Linked DNA regions of Homo sapiens: all the other regions are linked to region 1. The links are contacts of gene promoters, found by promoter capture Hi-C in human tissues and cell types (Jung and others, 2019). All regions are on one chromosome and are shown on one strand. Each heading gives the region's core, a stretch centred on a gene start or on the middle of the fragment in contact. The rest is flanking DNA. Distances are from core to core; before and after follow the strand shown. Region 1 holds the start of WDR38 (WD repeat domain 38). Region 2 overlaps NR6A1 (nuclear receptor subfamily 6 group A member 1). Region 3 holds the start of MIR181A2 (microRNA 181a-2). Region 4 overlaps NR6A1 (nuclear receptor subfamily 6 group A member 1).

What was found. The method cuts DNA at HindIII sites, captures the fragments that hold promoters and counts their contacts. A contact is called where the count stands out against the background at its distance.
Region 2: a contact is called between a fragment that was not itself captured here and the fragment with the promoter of WDR38 in region 1, in 1 of the 25 tissues and cell types used here (IMR-90 fibroblasts).
Region 3: a contact is called between a fragment that was not itself captured here and the fragment with the promoter of WDR38 in region 1, in 1 of the 25 tissues and cell types used here (H1 embryonic stem cells).
Region 4: a fragment that was not itself captured here is called in contact with the fragment with the promoter of WDR38 in region 1 in 1 of the 25 tissues and cell types used here (mesenchymal stem cells).

Annotation. Positions count from the first base shown.
Region 1 is chr9:124,852,106-124,855,159 of GRCh38, forward strand. WDR38 (WD repeat domain 38) reads left to right here and starts at 1,355. Exons shown (of 9, transcript NM_001045476.3): 1 at 1,355-1,495; 2 at 2,100-2,220. The coding sequence starts at 1,427. RefSeq lists a silencer at 1,407-1,456. The HindIII fragment of the contact is 15,289 bases long and covers 1-3,054 here.
Region 2 is chr9:124,718,345-124,721,203 of GRCh38, forward strand. The region is part of intron 2 of NR6A1 (nuclear receptor subfamily 6 group A member 1); the gene reads right to left. LOC124902269 (a long non-coding RNA gene) reads right to left here. Exons shown (of 2, transcript XR_007061772.1): 1 at 1-2,859. Among named protein-coding and RNA genes, the nearest start is that of MIR181B2, 26 kb to the left of the region's middle. RefSeq lists an enhancer at 2,620-2,859. The HindIII fragment of the contact is 6,352 bases long and covers 1-2,859 here.
Region 3 is chr9:124,691,809-124,694,861 of GRCh38, forward strand. All of the region lies in intron 2 of NR6A1 (nuclear receptor subfamily 6 group A member 1), which reads right to left. All of the region lies in intron 1 of MIR181A2HG (MIR181A2 host gene), which reads left to right. MIR181A2 (microRNA 181a-2) reads left to right here and starts at 634; the gene lies at 634-743. It overlaps MIR181B2 (microRNA 181b-2), which reads left to right and starts at 1,902; the gene lies at 1,902-1,990. The HindIII fragment of the contact is 6,533 bases long and covers 1-3,053 here.
Region 4 is chr9:124,674,398-124,677,344 of GRCh38, forward strand. The region is part of intron 2 of NR6A1 (nuclear receptor subfamily 6 group A member 1); the gene reads right to left. The region is part of intron 1 of MIR181A2HG (MIR181A2 host gene); the gene reads left to right. Among named protein-coding and RNA genes, the nearest start is that of MIR181A2, 17 kb to the right of the region's middle. The HindIII fragment of the contact is 3,220 bases long and covers 1-2,947 here.

The DNA.
Region 1 (3,054 bases), core at 105-2,604:
TAGGCCCAGCTCAGAAGGGTCCCACAGTGACCTAGGCCCTCTGGGATCTGGGATGGAGTGGGACTGCCTCAAAGCTGTCATTGTCGCTCCCTCACCCGCCTGACTGTCTGGGACTTAAAATAGCAGGAGCACAGCGGATCTCCTGAGAAGTTTCTGGCAAAGAGGTTTAGGGGGGGAGGGTGTGAGTCGCCGCTGGGAACTCTTGAGTTTGAAGCTCCCAAAGCCCAGCTGCTCCACCCCTGCCCCCAGGGAGCCTAGAATCCATGGGCGGGGCAGGTGGGGGGTCCTCTGTTCCCTCCCTGTCCTGCTGTGGGAGTGGGGAGACTGGGTCCTGCCCCAGCTCTGCCATGGAAGCACCGGCTAGATGGCTGGGCCAAGTCCTGCCCCCTTCGGACCTCAGTTTCCCAGATGTACCAGGAGTTGCGGACCTCAACATCTGCTGAGAGGTCCCTGGAGTTCATGGCAGGTGGTCCCAGTACAGACACCCAGAGTCAGACAGCCATGGGCTGAAATCCCAGTTCCACTCCTACTGGCTGAGTGGCTCTGAGCAAGTCCTCCCAGCTCTCCGGGTGAGTTTCTTCACCTGTAAATTAACAATGAAACCAAGTCCTGCTCGTTCCAAGCTTCAGATTGCGCTATCCGGTAAGGATCCTGGCAGCTCCTGGGCAACTGCCCCCCAGCCCCAGCCTCCACCCCATCCTCAGATGGCACATTTTGTGCTGCCAGGAATGTTAACAGCAACGTGACCCCACTTTTAATGCCATGTACTTTACACACACTACCTCTGGCTTCCACGCCCTGGAGGACAGAGCTGGCTACTGTCCCCAGCGCTCTCCTGGGACATCCTTAACCTCAGTACTGGCCACTCCTGGACGGAAGGGGTATTGGCTCCTGAGGGGGCCCTCTTGGGCATCTACCGTGTGCCAGGCCCTGTGCTTGGCTCACCCCTGGAGTCCTGTGGGGCAGGGCTGATGCTCCCGGTTGTGCAGATGGGGAGACAGGCTCGTTGCTCCCCTGTATCAAAGAGGTGCAGGGACCCCTTGCAGTTCGCAGTCCGCAGGGCGCGGGGCCGGGCTCTGGGCCGCGCGGTGCGTGTGGCTGGCGCGCCCTCTAGTGGCCGCTCTGCCTGCCGTGTTGCCCCGCGCGAGAGCTGCCCTAGAGTGGACGCGCAGCCGCTGGCGCGGGAAGTCCCTTCTCCCAGCCCGCCGCGGTCCCGCCTGCTGCGGCTCCACCTCCGCCGAACTGCAAGCGGTCTGGCCTGCCTGTCAGTCCTCGTGGCTTCGCAGGGACCCCACCATGGCCGCACGCCCCGCCCCGATTACCATGGAGACCGCCTGTACACAGTTTCCTCTTTCCTCTGCCCAGTCCTGGGGTCCCGCGGCCGCCTAGGAGGGAGCCCGCCGGGGCGGGGCGGGGCCGGGTGCCCATGAACAGCGGGGTCCCGGCCACGCTGGCCGTGCGGAGAGTGAAATTCTTCGGCCAGCACGGCGGGGAGGTGAGGTCCAGCGGGCTCTGCCCAGACTCCCGGCTTTGGATGCAGAGTGGTTCCTGGTTCTGTGTAGTGGGGGTTCCAGAATGTTCTCTGGGCAGTGGCTCAGGACATTGAGTCCAGAGTAGACTTTGCTAACCCAAGAAGGATCGAAGTAGGTTCTCAGCTCCAGTGCCGGGCCCCAGCTCCAGAGCAGCTCTAGGTTCTAAGCTCTGCCTGTAAAAAGAGCCCCGGGCTCTGGGCTCTGCCTCGAGAGGGGCACAAAGCTCCCTGCTGACTCTGGTGTTTTCTGGGGCCCTGGCTCTAAAGTGAACTCAGAACTTAGAGTAGATTCTGGACTCTCCGTTGTCAGCTGCGGCTCTGGAATGGGCTCTTAGCTCTGGGGTTCCAGGCTCTGGTTCCAGAGAAGGCTCTTGCCTCCAACTGCAGGCTCTGGCTTTACGGGACTCGAGAGAGGGCCCAGTGGGTCCCGGGTTCTGGGCTCTGGTGGTGGAGTGAGGCTTGAAGTCAAGCTCCAACCCCAGGCTCTTGGGGGGCAGTGTTTAGGGGTCAGAGATGAGCGGACAGGGGTTTCTTCCCCAGAATGGGACCGCTTTTGTGCTGTTTCTAGGTCAACTCTTCTGCCTTCTCCCCTGATGGCCAGATGCTGCTCACAGGCTCAGAAGATGGCTGCGTGTATGGCTGGGAGACCCGGAGTGGGCAGCTGCTGTGGAGGCTGGGTGGCCACACAGGTGGGGCTCCCACACCTGGCCGGGAAGACCGAGGCACAAGGGTCTGGCATGCTGCAGAGCTGACTGCAGTGACCTCCGATGAGCTGGGCACGGGTGCAAGGCAGGGCTGGGCAGGTTGGGAGATGGGACGAGATATCTGGGTGCTGGGGCTTAGACTCTAACAGGCCTGGACTCAGCCTTCTTTAAAAACACACACACACACACACATACATACAAAAACAACTGTAATGTAACACAGTAATACTTACTGTTGCATCCTTTTTTGTGTGTGACAGAGTCGCTCTCTGTCACCCAGGCTGGACAACCTCGGCTCACTGCAACCCCCGCCTCCTGGGTTCAAGCAATTCTCTGCCTCAGCCTCTCGAGTAGCTGGAATTATAGACACCTGCTACCACACCCAGCTAATTTTTTTGTATCTTTAGTAGAGACGGGGTTTCACCATCTTGGCCAGGCTGGTCTTGAACTCCTGACCTCGTGATCCACCCACCTCGGCCTCCCAAAGTGCTGGGATTAAAGGCGTGAGCCACTGCACCGGCTTTGTTGTGTCCATTTTTAAGTGTACAGTTCAGAGAATCCAGTACCTTCACATTGTCGTGACACCAATCTCCAGAGCTCTTCCTCTTGCAGAACTGAACCTCTGTCCCCACTAAACAAGTCCCCAATCTCCCTCCTCCCAGCCCCTGACAACCACTGTTTTTCTTTTTGTCTCGATGAATCTGACCTCTCTGGGTGCCTCTAAGTGGAGTCACACAGTATTTGTCTTTTTGTGACTGGCTTATTTCACTTAGCATGATGTACTTAAGGTTCAGCCATGTCGTGCTTACCACTGTTTTG
Region 2 (2,859 bases), core at 186-2,685, 130 kb before region 1:
ATGGAAGCAGGGTTGCAAGTAGAAGCCTGAAAATGCTGTAGAAGTCTTTTACTTTATTCTCAGACTTCAAAGATGGTTCCTGCTACTTGAGGACTCTGATTCCCCCTTCCTTAGAACAATTTCAAGATAACAGAATTCTGAATGTAAAATCTGTGCTTTAAGTGGAAGCTAGAACCTATTGGCTCAATTTGGCAGAATAGCCATGGAAATCTGGCAGCTAAAATGAGAGAGAATTTTTTAAATGCATGTCTTTTTTCTTAATAATGTGATGTTCTTAAAAACAGAAAACTCAGAGATAATGAAAGATACCCTGTAATCTCATTTTCCCAAAAACACCACTATTAAAATTGGATCACCTTCCAGACTAAAAATTTGCCTTCTCCTTAAGTCTACAGCATCCTACTGCATGAATAACCACAATCCATTTATCGAGTCCCCTATTAAACTTAAATTGTTACCTTTTTTTTTTTTTTTTTTTTTTTTTTTTAAAGACAGGGTCTCGTTCTGCTGCCCAGGCTGGAGTACAGTGGCGCGATCTTGGCTCACTGCAGCCTCCACCTCCTGGGCTCAAGCGATCCTCCCACCTCAGCATCCCCAGTAGCTGGGATGACAGGCATGCACCAGCACGCCTGGTTATCCAATTTTTTTTACTATTATAAATGCTAAAAGAAGCATCTGTAAACATACATTTTTCATAACTGTCAAGTATTTAGGATAAATTCCTAGACGTATGAATTGTTCAATCTAAGTTTTCTTTTGTGGCGGGGAGGGTGGAGACAGGGTCTCACTCTGTTGCCCAGGCTGGAGTGCAGTGGTGCGATCACAACTCACTGTAGCCTCGACCTCCCAGGACCAAGTGATCCTCCCAAGTAGCTGGGACTACAGACATGTGCCGCCACACCCAGCTAATTTTTGTATATTTTGTAGAGATGAGGTTTTGCCATGTTGCCCAGGCTGGTCTCAAACACCTGAGCTCAAGGGATCCACAAAGTGCTGGGATGACAGGAGTGAGCTACCTCTCACCTGGCCTGTAATTTTAAATTTTATATTTTTAAATTTTAAACTGCCAAGTCTGAAAAATTAACCTGCACATTATCAGTTTTAATAGGTATCAGATTACATTTTTAAGAGTTCCCATTTTCCCACACTCTCATCATCCCTAAAAATTATTTAATGTAGGAGCTGAAAACTCAAATGCCTACAGAAGACTAGCAGGAAACGTAAATGGGTAAAGGAGGCCACCAAGGTTCTGTGAAAACCTAAGAGTATACGCTCATTTAAAGAAGGCAGCAGGCTGAGCACAGTGGCTCACACCTGTAATCTCAGCACTCTGGGAAGCCGAGGTGCGCGGATTGCTTGAGTCTAGGAGTTGGAAACCAGCCTGAGCAACCTGGTGAAACCCCACCTCTACAAAAAAACACAAAGATTAGCCCACCGCGGTAATGCGCGCCTATAGTCCCAGCCACTCGGGAGACTGAGGTGAGAAGAACTGCTTGAGCCCAGGAGGTCGAGGCTGCAGTGAGCCATGATCGCACCATTGCACTCCAGCCTGGGTGACAAAAGACCGTGTCCCCAATCCATATAAAGAAGGCAGCCACTACTCTGTTCCAGCCAAGAGATGCCATATAAAAATCTGAGCTCAATGTTAGATATTACAATTTATCAAGAAAGCCAGAAATCCAAAGTTTTTTGAAACTCTTGAACGTTTTTGGGTTTTTTTGAAATGCAGTTTTGCTCTTGTCACCCAGGCTAGAGTGCAATGACGCAATCTCAGCTCACTGCGGCCTCCACCTCCAGGGTTCAAGCAATTCTCCTGCCTCCATCAGCCTCCCAAGTAGCTGGGATTACAAGCATGCGCCACCACGTCCAGGTAATTTTGTATTTTTAGTGGAGATGGGGTTTCACCATGTTGGCCAGGCTGGTCTCGAACTCCTGACCTCAGGTGATCCACCCACCTCAGCCTCCCAAAGTGCTAGGATTACAGGCGCGAGCCACCACGCCCGGCCATCTTGAACATTTTAAATGTTGACAACTAACATGATTTTATTTAAACATCCTGGAAGTCAAACAAAATACATCTATAGGGCAGACTACACTTAGGACATGGAATTTTGTACTAACAGATGAAAAAGATCTTTAACACTGTATTTTCACTTTGAATCTTATTTTGCAGTTTTGATTTTCTTATGCTTACCAACAAAGCACATTCAATTTTGGTTCACAATGACTGTCGGCTCTCTTCAAAGAGAGAGGCTTATCTTTTCTTTCAGATCATATCTATGACAAATACTGGACCAAAATAAAACAAAAACAAAGTAGCTTCAGGTAAAGAGGCAAAGAGTGGTCCCGGTTGACCAAAGAGTACCCAGAAAGGGCCTCAGTTAGAACTGAGTTATTATAGCCTCAGCATGCTAAGAATATGTGAGATATTTAGAAAAAAAAAGTTAATTTGTAAAACTATGTACAACTTTGAAGACAGTGACTTTAATCTAGGGTATCCCCCCACTACTGATACGTTTGCCTAACACAGAAGGTTTTCTCTTTGGCAAGAGTTCAAAAAAGGAAGAGAAGAATTCCCATGTATTCCCTTGTTATCAAGCACTGAATTTAAGCAACCCCTTTCAGCTTTTTTTTAATAAAATAAAACAAATGTTTATTAAAAGTCTTTGTCTCATCTGAAAATGTTACTGCAATATTGCTCCCATGGAAAGAACAACTGCAGAACCTAACTAGCCTCAGAATTTCTTCTCATTCCTTCTTAGTCATTCATTAAAATCTCCAGACTTAGATATTCAAGCAATCCCTTCACCCACCAGAGATAGTGGCAGACATCCAAGACTATCCAAGGACCCAACAACC
Region 3 (3,053 bases), core at 370-2,869, 160 kb before region 1:
GTCGAGGTTTTTCATCTTCCCCTATGACCTCACCTATAGACCTACCTGCTATTATTATAGGCAAACAAGTAGAAGAAATTTACATGTTTGACTTTGGCTCTGCAGTGATGGGTCTACTCCTAGATATCAACAGTAAGTTCTGTAGTAGACAACAGAAGCAGTATGATGAGTGAGCACTGGAAACATGAAGTCCAGTATTCAAATTCTGGCTTATAACCTTGGCTCCTGGCAATGTAACTTTAGGCAAATCACTTCAAGTTTTTTCATCAGGAAAATGTGGGTTGTTGAGAATTTAATGAGATAAAATATACAAATCCTAGTATATAGCAGATCCCCAATATATGTTAATCTCTTACCCTTGTTAACAATTAAAATACTACTGCAAAATCAGGTATTTTACATTTTTAGAATCACAAAATAATACCATTCAAAGACATTTTCTCAGACATTCATTTGAGTCTGCTTGTACAAATTACTGCACAGTCTATCCCACAGTTCATTAGTTCTCTGCTGCACACAAATTGATTTTATAATTTAAATACTCTCGACTTGAAACCCAGAGAGGAATGTAAGAGCATCCATCAGCGGTGGTCTCACTGCTCACTGGTTCTTGGGATGTGGATGGGAGAATGAAGAAGGGCTATCAGGCCAGCCTTCAGAGGACTCCAAGGAACATTCAACGCTGTCGGTGAGTTTGGGATTTGAAAAAACCACTGACCGTTGACTGTACCTTGGGGTCCTTACAGACGACACTACATTTCCTGAAGCAAAAGAGCAAGCTGTACCTTCACATGTCACATGAGTTCACCAGAAATGGTCCTGCAATCCCCCAAATGTGGTCCAGTGAATTTTATTCCTACTGCTCACTGTTCCTTGCTTTCTGTTGTGTGTTTTATTATTATTTGTTTGTTTTTACAAAAAAAGTGTTTCATTTCAACAAGGTAAGGAGCAGTCCATGATGATATCTAATGTACCTACATGTCTCCTAGATATGCACCATTCTGGTGAGAAACAGGACGTAGCAAGTAAAAATTTATTAAAAATACGTATTTTGTTTTGGAATAAAATCCAGTTAAATAATTACTCCCATTTCTCCCACATCCTCTCAAAATTTTTAATTAGGGGCAAGGGGAGGATTTAATAAGCAAAAATAGCACAAAATTATCCAATTGTGACAGTTCTTATCACATTTCACTTTGAATTATAGTTAATATGGTTAATTTTTGATATCCCAGTTAGAGCATGAGCTATTGCCTTACTAGTGCCCACATATCCCCACATATGCTTATTTAAATGTTTGCTAAATTCAAGCAAAAACTTAGCCCTGGAGTCAGTCAGATCTGGGATGAATCTTGGCTCAAGCCCTTAACTAGTTATTTGACCCCCTAAGCAAGTGTCTCAGTTTTCTCACATATAAAACAGAGGCTAAGAGTACCTATCATGGAGTTTTGAGACTCAATGAGATAATATATAAGGTGCTTTGTACCATTACTAGCCCACAGCAAATGCTCAATATATGTAAGCTGTTATTATTAAACTCCAACATAATCTGCTAATTTACCTCAAAAAAGCACTCATACTTCTCAGTTCAAAACAAAGAGGAAAAGCAGGTCCCTCAGCTGTGGTTTACAGGTACTAATATGCAAGCACTGCCTGTGTGGCGCAGTGCTACCTGTGAGGTTCTCCAAGCACTCCTTCCTTCTCTGAACCACAGCTTCCTCATCTGCAATAACCTCCCAGCTCCAATGTCAATGTTATGGACACCTGTGTGGGCCCTCAATCATGCAGATGGCTGGTTACTAAGGGAGAAGCCAGACACACAGACTTCAAAGAACTGAGATGGAAAAGAAGAGCCAGGAGTCAGCCAGGGAGGGCAAAGGCAACCCCACCAACTGAAAACACTGATGGCTGCACTCAACATTCATTGCTGTCGGTGGGTTTGAGTCTGAATCAACTCACTGATCAATGAATGCAAACTGCGGACCAAACAACCCAAAGGAAGCAAAAGCATGTGCAGAGAGTCGCCTGAGTGCAGCAGCTACTGCTGTGAGTGGGAGCTGCTACTATTTCCAAAACACTAGCTAAAGCTTTTCTTGTTCTCCTTGGTTCTAACATGGAGTAAGTTCTCTAAATTCCTAGTACTTTTCTCCTTTTTCAATAGTCTAGATTTAAGGAAATGATATTTTATAGGAAGAATTAAATACATATCTGGATATCACATCACATTTTAAAAATCAGTACATTCAGAATTTCTAAACAGAATCATATGCTTATTATTTAGAAATTCAAATACAAAAATATACAAAGTAAAAATTGAAAATCCCTTCAATCATCATCTGCAATCCATTTCCTCGGAGGAAAACATGTATAATTATAATAAACTTATTAAGATAATAAATATCATAACTAGAATTTATTTTATATCCTTGAAGACCTTTATCCATACATACACAGATAAATAGCTGTAATTTTGCATGTTTTGGGGGGAGAGTGGCTTAGACAAAAATAAGCTCATTTTTACCTATTGTTCTATAATCTATTTTGTTATTCAGCTATATATCATAGACTTCCACAACAGTCTTTTATGTACTCGTCATTCTTTTAAATGGCTATATAGTATGACTTAATATGAATGTTCTGGTTATTATTCAGATGTACATCAATATTCTCTTTTGACAAAAACTATGAGGCTCATTCATTCTAACCTTTGCAAACCATGTCCCTCAAACAGGAAAAACACCTAAGTGAGATAGAAGATGTACATTTTTCTTAACAAAAAATTTAAATGTAGTATCAACTCTCTAAATCCTGTAACATGAGATAAGCCACTAAATCCCATGTTAAAGAAAGAAAAACAAGGCCCTTGGTCATGAATAATTTATCATACACTTAAGTCTAAGAAGAAGCAGATTCTCATAGCAAAAGTCAAATAAGACAGTAAGAGAAGAGTCTTGTCAAATTAGCCTTGACAATTAAGCAAGCCTTAATTTGACAAGGCTTTCCTGTCAAATTAGGAAGGAGAAGTGATGGGGTAATGAGACAAGAACCAGAAA
Region 4 (2,947 bases), core at 322-2,821, 180 kb before region 1:
CTCTGCCACTTAATACCTGTGTGATCTTGGGCAATTTATTTCCCTTACTGTGTCTTTCTATTTTCATCTGTAAAATGGGAAAAATAATAAGTATCTATCTTACTGGGTTGTTATGGGGATAAGACAAGCCCTCTTTTAAGTGCTTTACATATAAAGTCCTAAAAATAAAACCTGGAACATAAGTGCTATATAAATATTAACTATTATTATCTTAATAACAGAGGTACACATGCTTTGAGGCTGCTGCACATCAAAGAAATGAATTTGGACATAAGCAACTTAATATTTTTCTTGTATTTAAGAGAGGCCCAATGGAAATATTCATATACCCATCTTCAAAAATGGGAGGAAAAAAGGCTGAAGGAATAGCAAATTACAACACAGGAACTATATAACTACTAAGTAAATGTGACCTCATCCATCCAGAAACAGGTATGAAGGAAATGTATTTTCTAGCTCCGCCTTAACCATGTAATCACTCAGATAAAGGAGTCCTACATTCCAGAGAGATAGAGGAAAATGATTTTTCTTGCTCTTACCTTACAACAAACTGATAACCAACACAGCTAACCTTTGTGCGTTCTCACATAATTTTTAAGTGAAGAAAACATCTCTTAGGACAAAATAATCAATTCTGGAAGCTTTCTTAGAAATGCCTTCCTGCCTTATACTAGTCTTTTCTTCCCATACTCCACAAACTTCATCCCTGGGCAAGTCAGAAGAGGTATCTAAAGACGCAAAAATGCAAGCAAGTAAACATTCTTTAGAACTGAAAGGAAATCCTATGCTTGTTCTTACTTAGAAAGTTATGGAGTTAATCCTGTGGACTGGCTTATGTTGCTGACTTACAAAGCAAACAAAATACTAAATTGTATAAGCAACAAATAAAATCAGTGAATTGTAATTTATCTGTCTAAGAGTCTGTGCCTCCTACCAGACTGTAACTTCTCGAAAAAATACTTTATTCATCACCAGCATCTAGCACATTGCCTGGCACACACAGAAGGTGTTCAATAAGTGTTGACTGAATACAGTCAGAGAGCACCTCCTCCTTGTACAAGGTACTGTTAGGTGGCAGACAGCCAATAATGGTTCACTTAGGTTGATGTCAAAGATTTCTGTTTGAAATTTAAATAAAGCCAGGTCTGGCTAAAGAGCTGCAGCTGTAGTTGTACCTGCTCTCAACCCAGATTTATTCCCAATAGCAAGGCTACCCTCTTCTGCATGCCTGCTGATATTTCTCTCAAATGATGAGAAGCCACTTCCCATGTGGCCCTAGTGTGTAATTCTTTCTGCTCAACAAAGGAGGCAGTCTAGAATCTTTGGTCATAAAAATATGATGGTTAGCAACAGGAAGCAACTGCTGGGCAAGCCTGGTACACTTCCAAATGAAATCTTTCCATCTAGAATTCTCAATTGAAGGTGCCAAACTCAATCCAGAACATCTGGATTTGCTCCTCTGGCTTCAAGCGTTCTCCAAGAGAGGCTAGGAAAAAGTACGCTCTTGCCGGTACGTGTAGGTGTAATTGTATACTCAAATATTGTACTTTGGATAAGAGTCCAAGACTTGGCAAATGGATGGAATGTAGCACATGGAACTGCCTGAATAGATACCCACGCTAAGAGAAGGGTTTTCTTGCAAAATATAAACAGGCAAGGTGTGAATTGCCCCTCTGTGTCACAAGTTAGAAGAATTCACCCAGGAGAATAAGTTCTTAGGAATCAGTGGGGGAATAATGCTCAGAAGCATGTGACAGGCAAAACAGCACCATTCCCTAGGAAAACGGCAAATTTATCAAACAATAACTCTTTACTTCTCCTACCCCAATAAGATAAATATATGTGATTATAATTTGATCCATACAGAAAAAAATATTGAGCTGCAAACTCTGGCAAACAGACAGTGCTGAAATTAAACATTATGAGCTTTGGCAGCTGCACTATGTACTCTCAGATTCTTACATCATTACTCTGGTAAGGGCCCCGTACCAAGCTGGCATAGTTCTGATGTGGTCTGGAGGGAGACTTTCTTGCCTTTTATTTAAAAAAAAAAATGACCTACATATAGCCTCTTTTCATGCCACAGGGAAATAAATATTTTCCTTTCCTCCAGATTTTGTTTTAAATGACAAAGCCATACTGCCAAGTTATTAAGAAAGTGTTAGAAATTATTATGAGATTTTTAAAGGCCACTTAGTACAAGCTCTAAAAAGACTTCTAAAACAGTAGACTTCAAAAACAGGATCTCTCCTAAAGTAGTGATAATCCATTTGTGGCAATAAAGAATCAGTTTATAGAGTGATGATTACTTTCTTGTTTATATTCTGACATTGGAAGTTTAAGTATCCAGATCCTCAGTAACCTCAAATGCAAAATGAAATAGTAATGTCACCGTTTGGGACAGTTCTTCTCACAATATCAGATATATGGCAAGTCCTCAGTAAGTACTAGACAAACTTATGAACGATAGAACCTTTAAAATTCGTGACTAGAGCAATCATATACTTAACAGAGCTAAGTGGTTACCTTTACTTCACTCATATTCAAGACTGAAAAGAATTTACACATAAGCTAGTTTCAAGATCAAAACTGCGTTTGTCCCTTTCAACAACTGATACCACACAAACAAGACTTCATTCTCTATTTCCCTCCAGTGGCATCCAAGAAAAACATAAAAATTCCAAATCTCAAAAATAACAGGTTAAAGAAGAAAAAAAAAGGCCTTAGTGCTCATAAACTAGATATATAATTTGACATGTTTAGAGTGATAGGATTATGTTTCCTATCATGAAATATTTCAAATTTTCATATATGGTCAAAATAGTATAGTAACTACCAAGCTTTACTTCCAAATTATTATTACTATTTCCTTTCTTCTGGAGACAGAGTCTCACTTTGTCACGCAGGTTGGAGTGTAGTGGCTTGATCTCAGCTCACTGCAGCCTCA